5 separate regions of the Homo sapiens genome follow, and regions 1, 3, 4 and 5 are each linked to region 2. The links are contacts of gene promoters, found by promoter capture Hi-C in blood cells and fetal thymus (Javierre and others, 2016). All regions are on one chromosome and are shown on one strand. The core of a region is centred on a gene start or on the middle of the fragment in contact, and the rest is flanking DNA. Distances in the headings are between cores, read along the strand shown. Region 1 holds the start of HSBP1L1 (heat shock factor binding protein 1 like 1). Region 2 holds the start of CTDP1 (CTD phosphatase subunit 1). Region 3 overlaps SLC66A2 (solute carrier family 66 member 2). Region 4 has its middle 9.2 kb from the start of NFATC1. Region 5 has its middle 2.4 kb from the start of TXNL4A.

Evidence for each region. Contacts are between HindIII fragments. The CHiCAGO score rates a contact against its expected background, and 5 or more counts as called.
Region 1: a contact is called between the fragment with the promoter of HSBP1L1 here and the fragment with the promoter of CTDP1 in region 2, in 1 of 17 cell types (neutrophils). The highest score is 5.2, in neutrophils.
Region 3: a fragment that was not itself captured here is called in contact with the fragment with the promoter of CTDP1 in region 2 in 1 of 17 cell types (monocytes); the score reaches 5.5 in monocytes.
Region 4: a fragment that was not itself captured here is called in contact with the fragment with the promoter of CTDP1 in region 2 in 1 of 17 cell types (naive CD8 T cells); the score reaches 5.0 in naive CD8 T cells.
Region 5: a fragment that was not itself captured here is called in contact with the fragment with the promoter of CTDP1 in region 2 in 1 of 17 cell types (monocytes); the score reaches 6.7 in monocytes.

What each region holds. Positions count from the first base shown.
Region 1 is chr18:79,963,100-79,965,892 of GRCh38, forward strand. HSBP1L1 (heat shock factor binding protein 1 like 1) reads left to right here and starts at 1,544. Exons shown (of 4, transcript NM_001136180.2): 1 at 1,544-1,687. The coding sequence starts at 1,637. RefSeq lists an enhancer at 26-105 and a silencer at 1,201-1,770. The HindIII fragment of the contact is 8,145 bases long and covers 1-2,793 here.
Region 2 is chr18:79,678,395-79,681,094 of GRCh38, forward strand. CTDP1 (CTD phosphatase subunit 1) reads left to right here and starts at 1,409. Exons shown (of 13, transcript NM_004715.5): 1 at 1,409-1,867. The coding sequence starts at 1,554. CTDP1-DT (CTDP1 divergent transcript) reads right to left here and starts at 1,351. Exons shown (of 5, transcript NR_136643.1): 1 at 1,000-1,351. RefSeq lists enhancers at 534-1,041, 1,042-1,550. The HindIII fragment of the contact is 26,865 bases long and covers 1-2,700 here.
Region 3 is chr18:79,942,336-79,945,035 of GRCh38, forward strand. SLC66A2 (solute carrier family 66 member 2) reads right to left here. Exons shown (of 6, transcript NM_025078.5): 3 at 994-1,127. Among named protein-coding and RNA genes, the nearest start is that of SLC66A2, 8.0 kb to the right of the region's middle. RefSeq lists a silencer at 1,930-1,989. The HindIII fragment of the contact is 6,504 bases long and covers 1-2,700 here.
Region 4 is chr18:79,385,406-79,388,105 of GRCh38, forward strand. No RefSeq gene overlaps it. Among named protein-coding and RNA genes, the nearest start is that of NFATC1, 9.2 kb to the right of the region's middle. The HindIII fragment of the contact is 3,390 bases long and covers 1-2,700 here.
Region 5 is chr18:79,989,611-79,992,310 of GRCh38, forward strand. It overlaps a transcript of TXNL4A not described here. Among named protein-coding and RNA genes, the nearest start is that of TXNL4A, 2.4 kb to the left of the region's middle. The HindIII fragment of the contact is 1,408 bases long and covers 598-2,005 here.

The sequences.
Region 1 (2,793 bases), core at 294-2,793, 280 kb after region 2:
CATCTGCATTTTGTCACCTACTTATTGGGGGTGGACATTTGGGTGGTTTCCACCTTTTGAGCATTACTGATGCTGCAGTAGACTTGGTGCACTCGCGCTGTCGTTTCGGTATATGCCTAGGGGTGGCGCGGCTGGGCCCTGTGGAAACTGCTTCACTTCTGAGGACCCACCCGACTTTTTCACAGCACTGCAGCCTTTCACAGCCCACCGGCTGCGTGGGGGGGGCCACAATCCCCACACGCCTCTCGGACTTACGTTTGTCTCTCTGATTCTAGCCATGCTGGTGGGTTGCAGTGGGAGCTCATTGTGGTTTTGGTTTGTGTTTTCCTGATGACTGGTTGTAATGAGAAAAACCGAGAATCACATTTAAAACCTTACCCTAAAGTGGGAGTTGCTGAGAGACCAAAGAATGACTGGGCGGAGTCCAGCTTGGTGAGTAGGTGAGTTTATTAGGACTCACATGTGGGGCACTCGTGGGCAGCAGGACAACTCTAGAGATGAGCGTGCTTCTGTCCCTAAGCTGCTTTTGAGCTAATTTTCTGCCTCTTTGCGCCGTCTGTGTGATGGGCCTGCTCCCTGTGGTGGTTCTCACATCCCCTCCGGGCTGTTTGGGTTCTCAGGGACACCTGCTCCTCGCTGGGCACCGTGGCCTGGACTCACCGCCTGGCCTTTAGGGTTCAGGCCACAGACATCCGCCCTGAAGTAACCTGGCGGGAACCGCCACGCCACAGCGGTGGTGCTGGGTGGCTGTGTTTTATTTATCCGCACATGGAGACACCAGAGCTTCCAGGTGTGGTCACTGGGCTGTGCCCTAGGGATGCTGGGGTGACCAGACATAGCCCTGTTCCCACAGCGCTGCACAGGGGCACAGACATGGCAACAAGACTGGTAACCCTAAAACACCGTCCTGGGAGGTCACCCACAAGGTGACGAGCCACAACCCAGGTGTGAAAGAGGCCAGGGAAGGCCCGGCGTGGTGGCCCAGGCCTGCGGTCCCAGCACTTTGGGAGGCCGAGGCAGGAGGATCACTTGTGCCCAGGAATTCGAGACCAGCCTGGGCAACATAGTAAGATCCCGTCTCTACAAAAAATAAAAAAGATCAGCCGGACCTGGTGGCGCGCGCCCGTGGTCCCAGCTACTGGCCAGGCCGAGGCAGGAGGATCGCTTGGGCCCGGGAAGTCGAGGCTGCGGGGAGCCATAGTCGCCACTGCACCCCAGCCTGGGCCACAGAGCGAGCCCCCGTCTCTGAGAAACGCAGCAGGGGTGACCGAGGCCCATGCACTGCCCGTGCGGAGCGTTTTGGGGGTGTAGGTGGCCGGTGGCGCCCACGGGCCCTCTTGAGTAAGGCGGCTCCGCCCAGGCCGTCCCGGGGCCTCGGCTCGGCTCGGCTCGGGAAGCCGCAGAGCCTGGGGGCGCGGACCAGTCCTCCGAGGCGGCCGCTCGGTGACATTGCGTCCCTGCAGGTGCAGCGCCCGCCTCTCCGCTCCGGCCCCGCCTCCGCCCTGGAACGCAGCGCGCTCCGCCCGAGGCCTCCCGGCGGCCCATACGGGAATCGCGGAGCTTAGCTGTCGCCACCTCGCGCCGGGTCCGCGCGGCCCACGGGACCCCCCACTGACGCCCCCGGCCAGCGGTCCACATGGACGTGCGGGGCCCTGAAGCCCCCGGCGGGCGCGCGCTGCGGGACGCGGTGAGCCCCTCCCCGACTCCTGCTTCTCTCTGGATGGGGGCGCCCCTGCGGTTCTGGGGGGTTTTGAGGTCCTGGGGGGGGAGCCTGCGGTGCTGGGGGTGCCCTGCGGTCTTCGTGGGGCCCTGAGGTCCTGGGGGGCCTGCGATCCTGAGGACTCCTGTGGTCCTGAGGAGTCCTGAGTGCCTGGGAGGCCTGTGGTCCTGGGGGGGCCCCTGAAGACCTGGGGGACCCTGCGGTCCTGGGGGGGCCTGAGGTGCAGGGGGGAGCCCTGCTGTCCTGGGGGACCCTGCGATCCTCGGGGGGCCTGAGGTCCTGGGGGGAGCCCTGCAGTACTGGGGGGCATTGAGGTCGGGGTCAGTGGGGAAACAACTGGGCCAAAGGGTGCCCGAAAGGGGACCCACGAGTGTCGCAGCGCCCAGGGCTCCGGCCTCTTCCGGGAAATCCTCCCGCTCCCCAGGCCTTCCTACTTGCCAAAGAGTTCCAGGCCCACAAGAGGACTGGCTATGAGGAAGAGACCTGGAATCTGAAGGAATGTGTTGGGCGTTGTGCAAACCCTAACGTAAATTTCCTGACAAAGGTAGAAAGCCCTGGCATGGTTCAGAGGTGGGGCCTCCTCCTATGTCGACGGGATTCTAGATTCACACCATGGTACGTGGGGCTCCCTGGGATCTTGAACCCCCAGCTGGGAGAATTTTGTGCTTCTCAGCCTCACTGTTCTCATCTCACCCTGGACACGGTCGCAGGGTGAGGAGTAGATTACACCGTGAATGGTGTGGGACGTCAGTCTGTAAACTACAAAGCAGTATATAAACAGGAAACGCTTTCAGTAGCAATGGTGGTATTTCTGTGTGACCTGGTAAGTAATTTCATAAGAATTCTTGAGGAGCGCAGGGTCACGAGATTTTCTCCTGCATCCTCCTCTGCATGCTTTATGGCCTTGGCTCTGGGCCAAGGTGTGTGATCTCCTGCATTCATGGTGTGTGGTGTGAGGAGGGGGATGGGTCCCTGCCCCGTCTGCACGTGGCCCTCATGATTCCCGCGCTGCTTGTTGAAAAGACTTTCCTTTCCCTCTGAATCCAAAGGCCTTAGCACCTTTGTCAGAAGTC
Region 2 (2,700 bases), core at 159-2,658:
GTTATTTCTGTAAACCAGTGAGAATTCCTCACAAACAAGTTCCTATTAGTCCACTCCCTGGCCCCCTTTTTTGCCTTTAAAATCCACTGTTAACTGCTAATCGGAGTACACATTCAGGGCGCCTTGAATTTGTGCTCAAGTGTGGCCCAAATAAACTCTCTACTTAGAGAAACTGTGTCTCCGCTCGTTTTCAGGCCGACAGTTTCCAAAATGTTAGTATTCAGCCTAACATGAGAAAAGTCACCATATAAAAGTGAGGGGGGAAAAGCAAATACAGGATAATCTCAATTGTATATAAAATTTATATACGTAAGGACAAAGATACATAGTAAAAAAAAAATTCTGGCAGGTATTAAGGCTGAAAAAATTAAAACAGTCCAGAGCGGTCTGGCTCAGGCCAGCCTGGGCCTGCCGAGTAGCTGGGACCTCAGCCACCGCGCCTGGCTAAGTATTAATGAATCTGTTTTAGAGATAGGGTCTTGCTACGTTGCGCAGGCTGGTCTCCAACTCCCAGGCTCAGGTGATCCGCCCGCCACAGCCTCCCGAAGTGCTGAGCCTCCCAAAGTGCTGAGACTACAGGCCTGGCCGCCCGCCCGCCAGCTTAATTCACGTAAATTCCAGACAAACGTAGAAAGTGGCTCCTTTAGTAAGCCACTTGCGGCTGCTGCTCATCAGGGTTCGCCTGGGGCCACTGAGACCACGCGCCGGTGCCCGCCCTCCCGCTGCGGTCCGATTTTCTGAACCAACCAGGCGCTTCCGGGCGCCTTGCCCCAGACGGGCCCACCGCCTGCGCGGGCCGAGGGCGGCGCACCTGCCCCTGCGCTTCCGCATCGAAGGTGAGGTCGGAGGAAGAGAAGACCGCAACCCCCAAGCTCCCGCGGCGTGGGGTCCGGGGGGGGACACGAGGCGGGGCCACCAGGACGCCGACAGCCTCACGTCTCTGGGCCCGCGGCGCGCAAGGCATGCCGGGACCCGTAGTCCCGCGACGTTGCGACTCACAGTGCGCGATGGGAGTGGAGGAGAGCGGCTCGCGGTGCATGCCGGAACTCGTAGTCTCGGGATGCTGGGTCTCAGCGCGTGATGGGGTAATGGCACGCAGGCCTGCGTTGAACGCTGGGACTCGTAGTCCCGCCATGCTCTGTCCGCGGTGCACGCCGGGATACGTAGTTCCGAGCGCGCCAAGACCGTCACTGGGACTGGGCGACAGCGGCCCGCGTTGCATGCCGCTGCTCCACGGTGCCGGCGCTCCGAGGAAAAGTAGGTAGGGCTCAGGAACGCAGTTCTTCACGGCCGGCACGCAGGGTTGGTCCCAGGACGGAGCCGGCTCCGGCCCCGCGCGGCGCTCGTATTTACACGCGCACGTACGCACGTACGCGGCGCCCTTGCGTGACGTCACGCGCCCTCCAGGAAGTCGGCGCGGGCTAGGCGACGGGTGGAAGCCGGTACCGAGAGGAACTACAGCGTCGCCGCCTGGGTTGTGTCGCCGCGGTAGGCGCTGCGCTCTGAGCGCAGCGCAGGCCCCGTACCGACCGCCCGCCCGCCCTCTGTCCGCGATGGAGGTGCCGGCCGCGGGTCGCGTTCCTGCCGAGGGCGCCCCGACGGCGGCTGTGGCCGAGGTGCGCTGCCCGGGGCCCGCGCCGCTGCGCCTGCTGGAGTGGAGGGTGGCGGCGGGCGCGGCCGTGCGCATCGGCTCGGTGCTGGCCGTGTTCGAGGCCGCCGCCTCCGCGCAGTCCTCCGGGGCCTCTCAGTCCCGTGTAGCCTCCGGGGGCTGCGTGCGCCCCGCGCGGCCGGAACGCAGGCTGAGGTCGGAGCGCGCGGGCGTGGTGCGGGAGCTGTGCGCGCAGCCGGGCCAGGTGGTCGCCCCAGGGTGAGTGTGCTGAGCCGGGCGGGGCCGAGGGCGGGCGGCTCCGGGGAGGGATCCTGGAGGACCCCCGGGCTGCTGCGTCCGCGGTGGGCAGGGGCGCCCCTGGTGAGGGAGCGATAAAGCGGGACGCAGGCACTGCGCTTCTCCCCTAAAACTGGATAGTCACCACCTGTGGTTTTACCAACGGGGAGCATTTTGAGATAAAAGGAAAGGGTCCTGCGTAGCGACACGAAGTTACTGTTTGGAAAAGCTATGTTTGTTTCTTTCTTTCTGCAGTGATAGTCCCCGCCCCTTCCTTTAGCTCCACCTTTGTGACTTAGGAAAACTCATGGGTGGCTGTGAGCACAAGAGTCATCAGGCAGGCTCCAGACCTGTTATTGAAATATAAACTGTTGGGTGTGTGCACATCTTTAAATTTTTGTAAACTTTGTGAAACGCAGTTGTAAAACCTGGTGCAGTTCTGTTTCGTGGCTAAGGAACGGGCGGAACCCAGGCCTGCAGCGAAGGCAGTAGCCCCGTGGTTGACCACAGTGGGCATTGTCGCAGGCTGCTTCAGGGTGACGTGGGCGTTGTGACAGACTCCACAGCTCTCAGTAGCTGTGCTCTGACCCCAGAAGGGGATATGTTTCCGTAGCACCGAAGTGTCCAGCCATGTTTGAATCTACCCTTGTGTTCTGGGATGGGCGGGCAAGTGGACACGCGTGTGCGCCTGGCTCTGGTAGTTTTGATTGTGAGAACAGAAACTCCAGGGAGAGGTGGACACTCCAGCCCGCAGTGGGCCGGGCGTGAGCTCCCTCTGGGAAAGGTGCCGCTCCTTCTGGGGATGCCACTCTCTT
Region 3 (2,700 bases), core at 155-2,654, 260 kb after region 2:
CCAGGTCACACTGGCTGGAGGCTGGTCTGGTTTCTACAGAGGCTGAAAGCAGCACACAGTCACCTCAGTCTAGAAACAGAAGCAGACAAAAAGGCAGAGGTGGGAATCCTCTCCAACAGGACGAAGTAGCGGTCAGGAATAGAAACACAGGGACACAGCTCCCCGGCAAGAGCTCAAATCCACAGAAGCCCCAAACTTAACAAACTCTGGGAAGATACTCTTCTCCAAGTGATAGCTGAGATCACTCTCTCTCTCAAAGCCAAAGTGAGTGCTGTCTTAGATTTAGTAATTAGAAGAAAAACAAAAGGAAGGATTTAACCCTCCTGCACACAAGAAGCCCGCCAGCCTGCATGTTCAAACAGAGTTCAGACTGGAACAAACTGTGCAATAGGCAAAAACTGGAAGAAGTATTTTCTATTTTCTAAGCTGCCAAAGGTTAAGGAGCCATGTGTGCTAAGCATGTGATTGGTCCTGCCCAGCTGTCAACACTGCAGTGTGCTCCGCATAAAGGGGCTGCCTGACCCTGCGGGGGGACTCTGGGTCTGTTTAACAAGGTCTGTGAGGAAGACCCTGGCTAAGGTACCCCTGAGTCACAGCAGAACTGAAAGGGTGTGTTTTGTGTACAGGCCACGCACACAGACGAAACGCCTGACCTGGTACCGTCTGACCTGATGGGCCAGGCACAGATGAGCACTTCTTGTTCTGACACAGAAAGCGTCTGGGATGGCGCTCACAGCCAAGAGGAACCGTGAAGATGTGTTGAGGCCTCACCCAACTTCCAGTGAAGAAACTATTATCTTGAATTGCTTCAAGTCATAAACCGTTTAACTGAAGTCATTTAACATACTGAAAACACTATCAGCTGGAGATAACAGCACCACTTGGTGAAATGAAAGCTGCTTGGATCAGGACAGATTAGAGTGGCTTTTGTTTCACCAGAGTCACCTACGCCCTGATTCCCTGCGACTTTATTCCGAAGCGCCGGCCACCAACCTGTAAAGGAGCGGCGCCTGGCGTTGAGCTCGTTGGCCACACGGACCTCGGTGCACAGCTTCAGCATCAGCAGCATGGTCAGGATCATGATGGCGCTCTGCCACAGCAGCGGGGACTCAAAGCGCCTTCCAAACCTGCGGGAGAGACACTGTGTCAGGAGGGAGGTCCACCCATGCCACTTCTCCCAGTCCCGAACCTGCAGCGGGAGAGACCCGGGTCAGGAGGGAGGCCCACCCACGCCGCCCCTCCCAGTCCTGAACCTGCAGCCGGAGAGACCCTGTGTCAGGCCCACCCACATCGCCTCTCCCAGTCCCGAACCTGCAGCGGGAGACACCTGGGTCAGGAGGGAGGCCCACCCATGCCGCCTCTCCTGGTCCCAAACCTGCAGCAGGAAAGATCCTGTGTCAGGAGGGAGGCCCACCCATGCCGCCTCTCCTGGTCCCGAACTTGCAGCAGGAAAGATCCTGTGTCGGGAGGGAGGCCCGCCCATGCCGCCTCTCCCAATCCCGAACCTGCAGCGGGAGAGACCCGGGTCAGAAGGGAGGCCCACCCACGCCGCCTCACCCAGTCCTGAACCTGCAGCAGGAAAGACTGCCCACCCACTCCCCCTCTCCCAGGCCCCAAGCGGCATCCCGGGGAAGGAGCCCAGGAGTTGGCAAACACCACAGTGACCAGGCACCTGTTGCCCATCTCCCAGACTCCAGGTGGGGTAGGGCTCCGGGGAGGGGCCGTAAGACCCCCATACAGCCTGACTCAGAACCCTTCGGCACATTTGGCGCTCCCCAGAACCAGTGGCCCAGGCACTGGTACCCGGGTCTAGTGGCCCTGAGTCCCCTCCCACAGCTCAGCCCAGGTGCCCCAGGCCCTCCCTGCAGCCTCCGGGTTGCCACCAGGCAAAAAGCCCAGTTTCTAGCTCACAGCAGCCCTGCTTCCTGCCTGGGGAAGGCGGGGATAGTGTGCAGAGCAGCAGGTGGGCCAGATGCGAAATTTCCACATGCACACACACTCCCACAGAAGAGAAGACAGCCAAGGCTCTGCACCACCCCCGCCCCCACGCCTCCCTGGCCCCGAGCTCCTCTAGCTGCAGGCTCCCAGGCCTTCTTGCTGACTTTTGACCAGGGTTGAGCATCTCTTCAGCTCAGCTAGGAGCCTCTGCAGGGCAGAACCACAGGCCAATGACTGGCAGTCTCTGCCTCCCTGCGGTCTCTGCCTCCCCAGAGCCACCACAGAGCTGGGACACATGCCTGCAGAGCCACCACCTCCAAGGCTGGGCTGTGTGTGGCACGCACTCATAGAAAGCCCCAACCCCTGACTGTTCCAGCGCGGGAATCTCAATCAGCCTGCAGTTTGGCCTGAAGGGAATTTTCAAAACTTGAACTGGTCACCAACATGTCAAAGTCAGGAGATCCTACATAACAGCCTCATTTCCCAACTTCTGAAAAACTGGAAGACCTAGCAACAACCACCACAGCCCCCACCTCTCTCCAGCTCCCATGCAGCATCCCCTTAACACGAAGCAGAAGAAGGGGGAACCCCGCAGCCCCCTCAGCAACCCCTTATCGACTCAGAGCAGAAGCAGGGGGAACCCCACAGCCCCCTCAGCACCCCCTTATCAACACAGAGCAGAAGCAGGGGGAACCCCACAGCCCCCTCAGCACCCCCTTATCAACAGAACAGGAACAGGGGGAACCCCATAGCCCCCTCAGC
Region 4 (2,700 bases), core at 171-2,670, 290 kb before region 2:
CCACACCGCCGGGGCCAGGCCACACCGCCACGGCAGGCCACACCGCCGGGGCCTGCCTCATCGCCCCACAGTCTGGAATGCTCTGCACACGCATCAGAAGGAGAGTCGCTGAGCATCACAAAGGAAAATAGAAAGCGCAGCCTCACTGCCCAAGGCCGGGGCAGAGATGACTTGCCTTGTGTTACTGCCTAATTAAACAGATTTGGGTAAACAGATTTGGGTAAACCAAGTAGTTTAAAGAAAAATGTTGGAATATTGCCATTTGAAAAGTATTATTATTTTGCAAGAGGAAAACAATTGTGAGTTCACAGGGACAAACCCAAACTCTTGCCAGAAACTAAAAATGTGATTTATTTACCTCTCGACCAGCGTTAGCAAAAAGAGCAGGCCTGCAGGATCAGGACGCGGCTCTGGGCCCTCCTGCCTCAGCCCTCCGGCACTGTGAGAGGGGCACACACCCGGGGTGGGTGTGCTTGTCCTGCGAAGTGCAGAACAGAGAAGAGGCTCCGAAGCACAGAGCGCCTCTGCCCTGGGCTTTGCACACATTCCTGACTTCTTAAGACACAGCTGTGCAGGACCATTGCATCTCCGTGAAGCTGTCCTCATTGGCCTCAGGCTGACCCGGGCCCCTGGCACTCGAGGGCCAGGGAAGGGGTCATGTCTCCCTGAGACACACATGTGGCATCCTTTCCCCGCCCCCGTGCACACCAGTGGAGTGTCAGCTCAGCCCTGTTTGTGCTTTCTAAGAGAAATCGAGGTTTAAAGGGGACTTTTTTTTGCCTAGCGTGGTGTGTGAGGCCCAGATGGCTGCAGCAGCTGTGCCGGGCTTGCCCGGCCTCCTCACCGGGAGCTTCCCTCTGGCTAGAGTTGCTGTTTCATCTGCCTGTGTCCCTGCGGCCCCACCCCCATGGAGGAAGCGAGGACCCTGTTCAGCCATGGCCTTCCTGTGAATTAGGCCTCCTTCAGGTGCAAGTGACAGAATCCACATTAAACTCGATTGAGCAGAAAAGGGAAGTTGCTTCCTCACCAAGGTGAAGACCCCAGGGGAGGCTCTCAGGTCCCACTAGACTCAGGGGCTCAAGCAGGGCATGGAATCGGCCTCTGGAGTCCCTGTCTCCATGGCAGCCCCGGGGTCCACATCTTCCCCAGGAGGGCACTCTTCAGGCCCCGGCTTCAGAGGAAGAGAACGCCATTCCCTGCGGCTGTGGGGCAGCAGCAGGCACACCTCCCTGGCCTCGGGTGGGCTCTGCCCCTGCGTGGGCTATGGCGGGAGTGGGAACATTCCCGTGACCCCCCTGGAGTTTAGGCCAGGCAGTGGAGGTCCTCGAGCAAAGGTCATCCCACAGGGAGTGCTCTGTCCAGTAGGAGCATGGCGCCCATGTCAGGGCACTGGCCTGGAAGGGAGCGTCTTAGTGGAGGCTGTGGGTGCTGCCAGGCCACCTGAGAGGGGACATGCATTGTAGGAAAGGCCACAGCGCACTGTGACAGGTGTGGTATCCTGGAAGGAATGAAAAACACTGCCCGGCCAGGCGCGGTGGCTCATGCCTATAATCCCAGCACTTTGGGAGGCCGAGGCAGGTGGATCACGAGGTCAGGAGATCGAGACCAGTCTGACCAACATGGTGAAACCCCGTCTCTACTGAAAATACAACAATTAGCCAGGTGCGATGGTGGGCACCTGTAATCTCAGCTACTCGGGAGGCTGAGGCAGGAGAACTGCTTGAACCAGGAAGGCAGAGGTTGCAGTAGCCGAGACTGTGCCATTGCACTCCAACCTGGGCAACAGAGCGAGACTCCGTCTCAAAAAAAAAAAAAAAAGAAAAAAGAAAACCACTGCCCTTTGGGTTGGTTTCCTGGGGCTGCCATCACAAATGACCACAAAGTGGGTGGCTTGAATGGCAGAAACATGTCCTCAGTTCTGGAGGCCAGAAGGCACAGTCGAGGGTCAGCAAGGCCAAGTGCCCTCTGGAACCGGCCACGGAGGTCCCTTCCCTTCCTCTTCCAGCTCGTGGTAGCCCCAGGTGCTCCTTGGCTCGTGGAGCCATCATTCCAGTCTCTGCCTCTGTCGGCTCACCACATTCCCTTTGTCTGTCTTCTCCTCCTGTGAGGGCACCAGTCATCATTGGGGTCCCCTTAACTGACACCATCTTAACTAGTTACAACTGTAGAGATGTCACTTACCAAATTAGGTCTCATTCCCAGAGACCAGGGGACTTCAATGAATCGTTTTGGAGGAGGCAGTTCAATTCACAACAGCATTGTTCTGAAATAATGATTAAGCTGTCTTGAGCCATTAGCAGGTGCCTCTCATTGATCTACCCTGAGAGGTGAAGGCCGTTACTATTGGCTCCCGTAGGTGTACCGGGGACTGGAATCCAAACTCGGGCTGTGGGCAAGCGCCTTCTCACACGAGAGCTGACGTGCTCTGTGAACCCGTCCCCGGGAAACTGGTCAAGTTAAAAACCCCCAGCCATTGACAGTCTCTGGAAATGGTCCTAAGGACACGCAGCAAGTGAAGACACATCTATTGAAAAAGACCTGATTTTTTAAAAAACCATCTTTACTAGGAAAGGTGAATGTATTTGATATTTGAACCAAAGCCACCCCCTCCTCCCCTCCCCCTGCCACTCCACCAGCAGGTCTGCTGCAGCTGAGGACACAGGTGGGTGGGGGAGAGTGACTCTGGGAGGGCGGGATGTC
Region 5 (2,700 bases), core at 52-2,551, 310 kb after region 2:
CTGGAGACTCCCTGGTTTGCAAACTGATATTGATAGTAAAACTCTTGTCTACTATCTAGCTATCCTGGTGGTCCTTTAGATGACAAATTTAAAACAAATCACGCCCGGGCGCGGTGGCTCACGCCTGTAATCCCAGCACTTTGGGAGGCCGAGGCCGGCGGATCGCCTATGGTCGGGAGTTCAAGACCAGTCTGGCCAACATGGTGAAACCCCGTCTCTACTAAAAATACAAAAAATTACCCGGGCATGGTGGCGCCCGCCTATAATCCCAGCTACTAGGGAGGCTGAGGCAGGAGAATCGCTTGAACCCAGGGGGTGGAGGTTGCAGTGAGCTGAGATCGCACCACTTCACTCCAGCCTGGGTGACAGAGTGAGACTCCATCTCAAAAACAACAACAAATCACTATGCAGATGCTGTGGTGTCTCTCAGATGGGCTGTGGCATGGTGAGAACTACAGTCTGAAGAGCCTGCTGGCATGGGGATTGAAATGGGTTCCATGTTTGGTTTCCTCTGGGACACAGCACCATAAGGTGCTTTGATAATATGCACCCACAATTTAAATACTAGAATCACAAGTGCAGCTCACTGCCAGATTAAGCTTTTTACATAATACAGAATATTTCCCAATTATATACGAAATGCTTTATTGTAATGAAACAATTTCAGGTTGGTAGGATATTAGAGATCATCTAAATCTCTTTCATTTTATAATTGAGTAAAGCAGAGGCACAGAATATAAGCATAGTGGTTAACAGTGAGGGTTTTAGTTACATAAAGGCGTGTTCAGGTTCATCTGTGCCTTGCATAAGTTATCTCAACAAACTTCAGTTTCCTCATCCATGAGATGGGATGATAAAACAAAATCTCCTGTACTTCATTGGCACCAGGTACACACTGGAGAAATCTGAGCCCTTACTAAGGTCAGGCTATTGCCTTCTAAAAAATTCCTTACCGTCATTTTGGTAGTCACTCATTTCAGATACAAACACAGTTGCTTAACACATCACAAGCATTTTATTCACAGGAGAGTTGTTCCAAGCTAAGGCATAAGACTCAAATGTCCCCAAATAATTTATTGAAACTCATTTTTTATTGTGTTACTTATAACAAGATTTATCGCCTTAATTTTTAAGGACATTAAGTACATTCATATTATGCAACCATCACCACTATCCATCTCCAGATAAATCTTTTCTTTAATAAAAACTTTTGGCCGGGCGCGGTGGCTCACGCCTGTAATCCCAGCACTTTGGGAGGCCGAGGCGGGCGGATCACGAGGTCAGGAGATCGAGACCATCCTGGCTAACACGGTGAAACCCCGTCTCTACTAAAAATACAAAAAAAAAATTAGCCGGGCGCGGTGGCGGGCGCCTGTAGTCCCAGCTACTCGGGAGGCTGAGGCAGGAGAATGGCGTGAACCCGGGAGGCGGAGCTTGCAGTGAGCCGAGATTGTACCACTGCACTCCAGCCTGGGCGACAGAGCCAGACTCCGTCTCAAAAAAAAAAAAAAAAAAAAACTTTTGTTGAGATCTAATCCATATACTATAAAATTCACCAATTGAAGGTGAGATGGTTTTTCAGTGTTGTGGAACCAATACCACAATCTAATTTTAGGAGAATGTTATCACCCCGAAAAGAAAACCTATACCCATTAACAGTCATTTCCCATTTCCCTCCCATTCCCTCAGCCCCTGGCAATCACTAATCTATTTTCTGCCTCTATAGATTTACCTATTCTAGACATTTCATATAGATGGAAACACAAAATATGGAGTCGTTTGTGACTGCTTTCATTTAACATAATGTTCTCAAGGTCCATATTGTAGCAGACATCAACAGCTAGTTCTTTTTAATTGCTGATGAATATTTCATTAAATAAAACAAAAAATTAGAAACTATTCCATTATATGGATATACTACATTTTATCCATCAGTTGATTGACATTTGGGTTGTTTGCATTTTTTTACTATTATGAGTAATGCTGCTATGAACATTCATGTACAAGCTTTTGTGTGGACTTAAGTTTTCATGTGGTAACTGTTTAACATTTTTAAGTATTGCTAAATTGTTTTCCAAATTGGCTACACCATTTTACATTCTCACCAGGAATGTGTGAGGGTTTCAGTTTTTCCACATTCTTGCCCATGCTTGTTATTTATGTACCTCGTGAACCCCAAAAATCTGAGACAGGTCTCAATTAATTTAGAAAGTTTATTTTTCCAAGGTTGAGGATGCATCCATGACACTGCCTCAGGAGGTCCTGATGATATGTGCCCGAGGTGGTCGGGGCACAGCTTAGTTTTATACATTTTAGGGAGGCATGAGACATCAATCAATATATGTAAGAAGAACATTGGTTCAGTCTGGAAAGGCGGGACAACTTGAAGCAAGGACAGGAAGACTCAAAGCGGGAAGGGGGCTTCCAGGTCACAGATATGTGAGAGATGAACAGTTGCATTCTTGTGAGTTTCTGATCAGCCTTTCCAAAGGAGACAGTCAGCTGTGCATCTGTCTCAGTGAGCAGAGGGATGACTGACTAGAATGGGAGGCAGGTTGAAGGGACCCAAGATACTTTCCTTTCACAGCCTTGTATTATGGTCATACTGGTAGGTATAAAATGATAAGGTGGTTTTCATTTGCCTTTTCCTAATGGTTAGTGACTGTTCCTCAGTGGCCAGGCCTATACAAATCTGCCCCA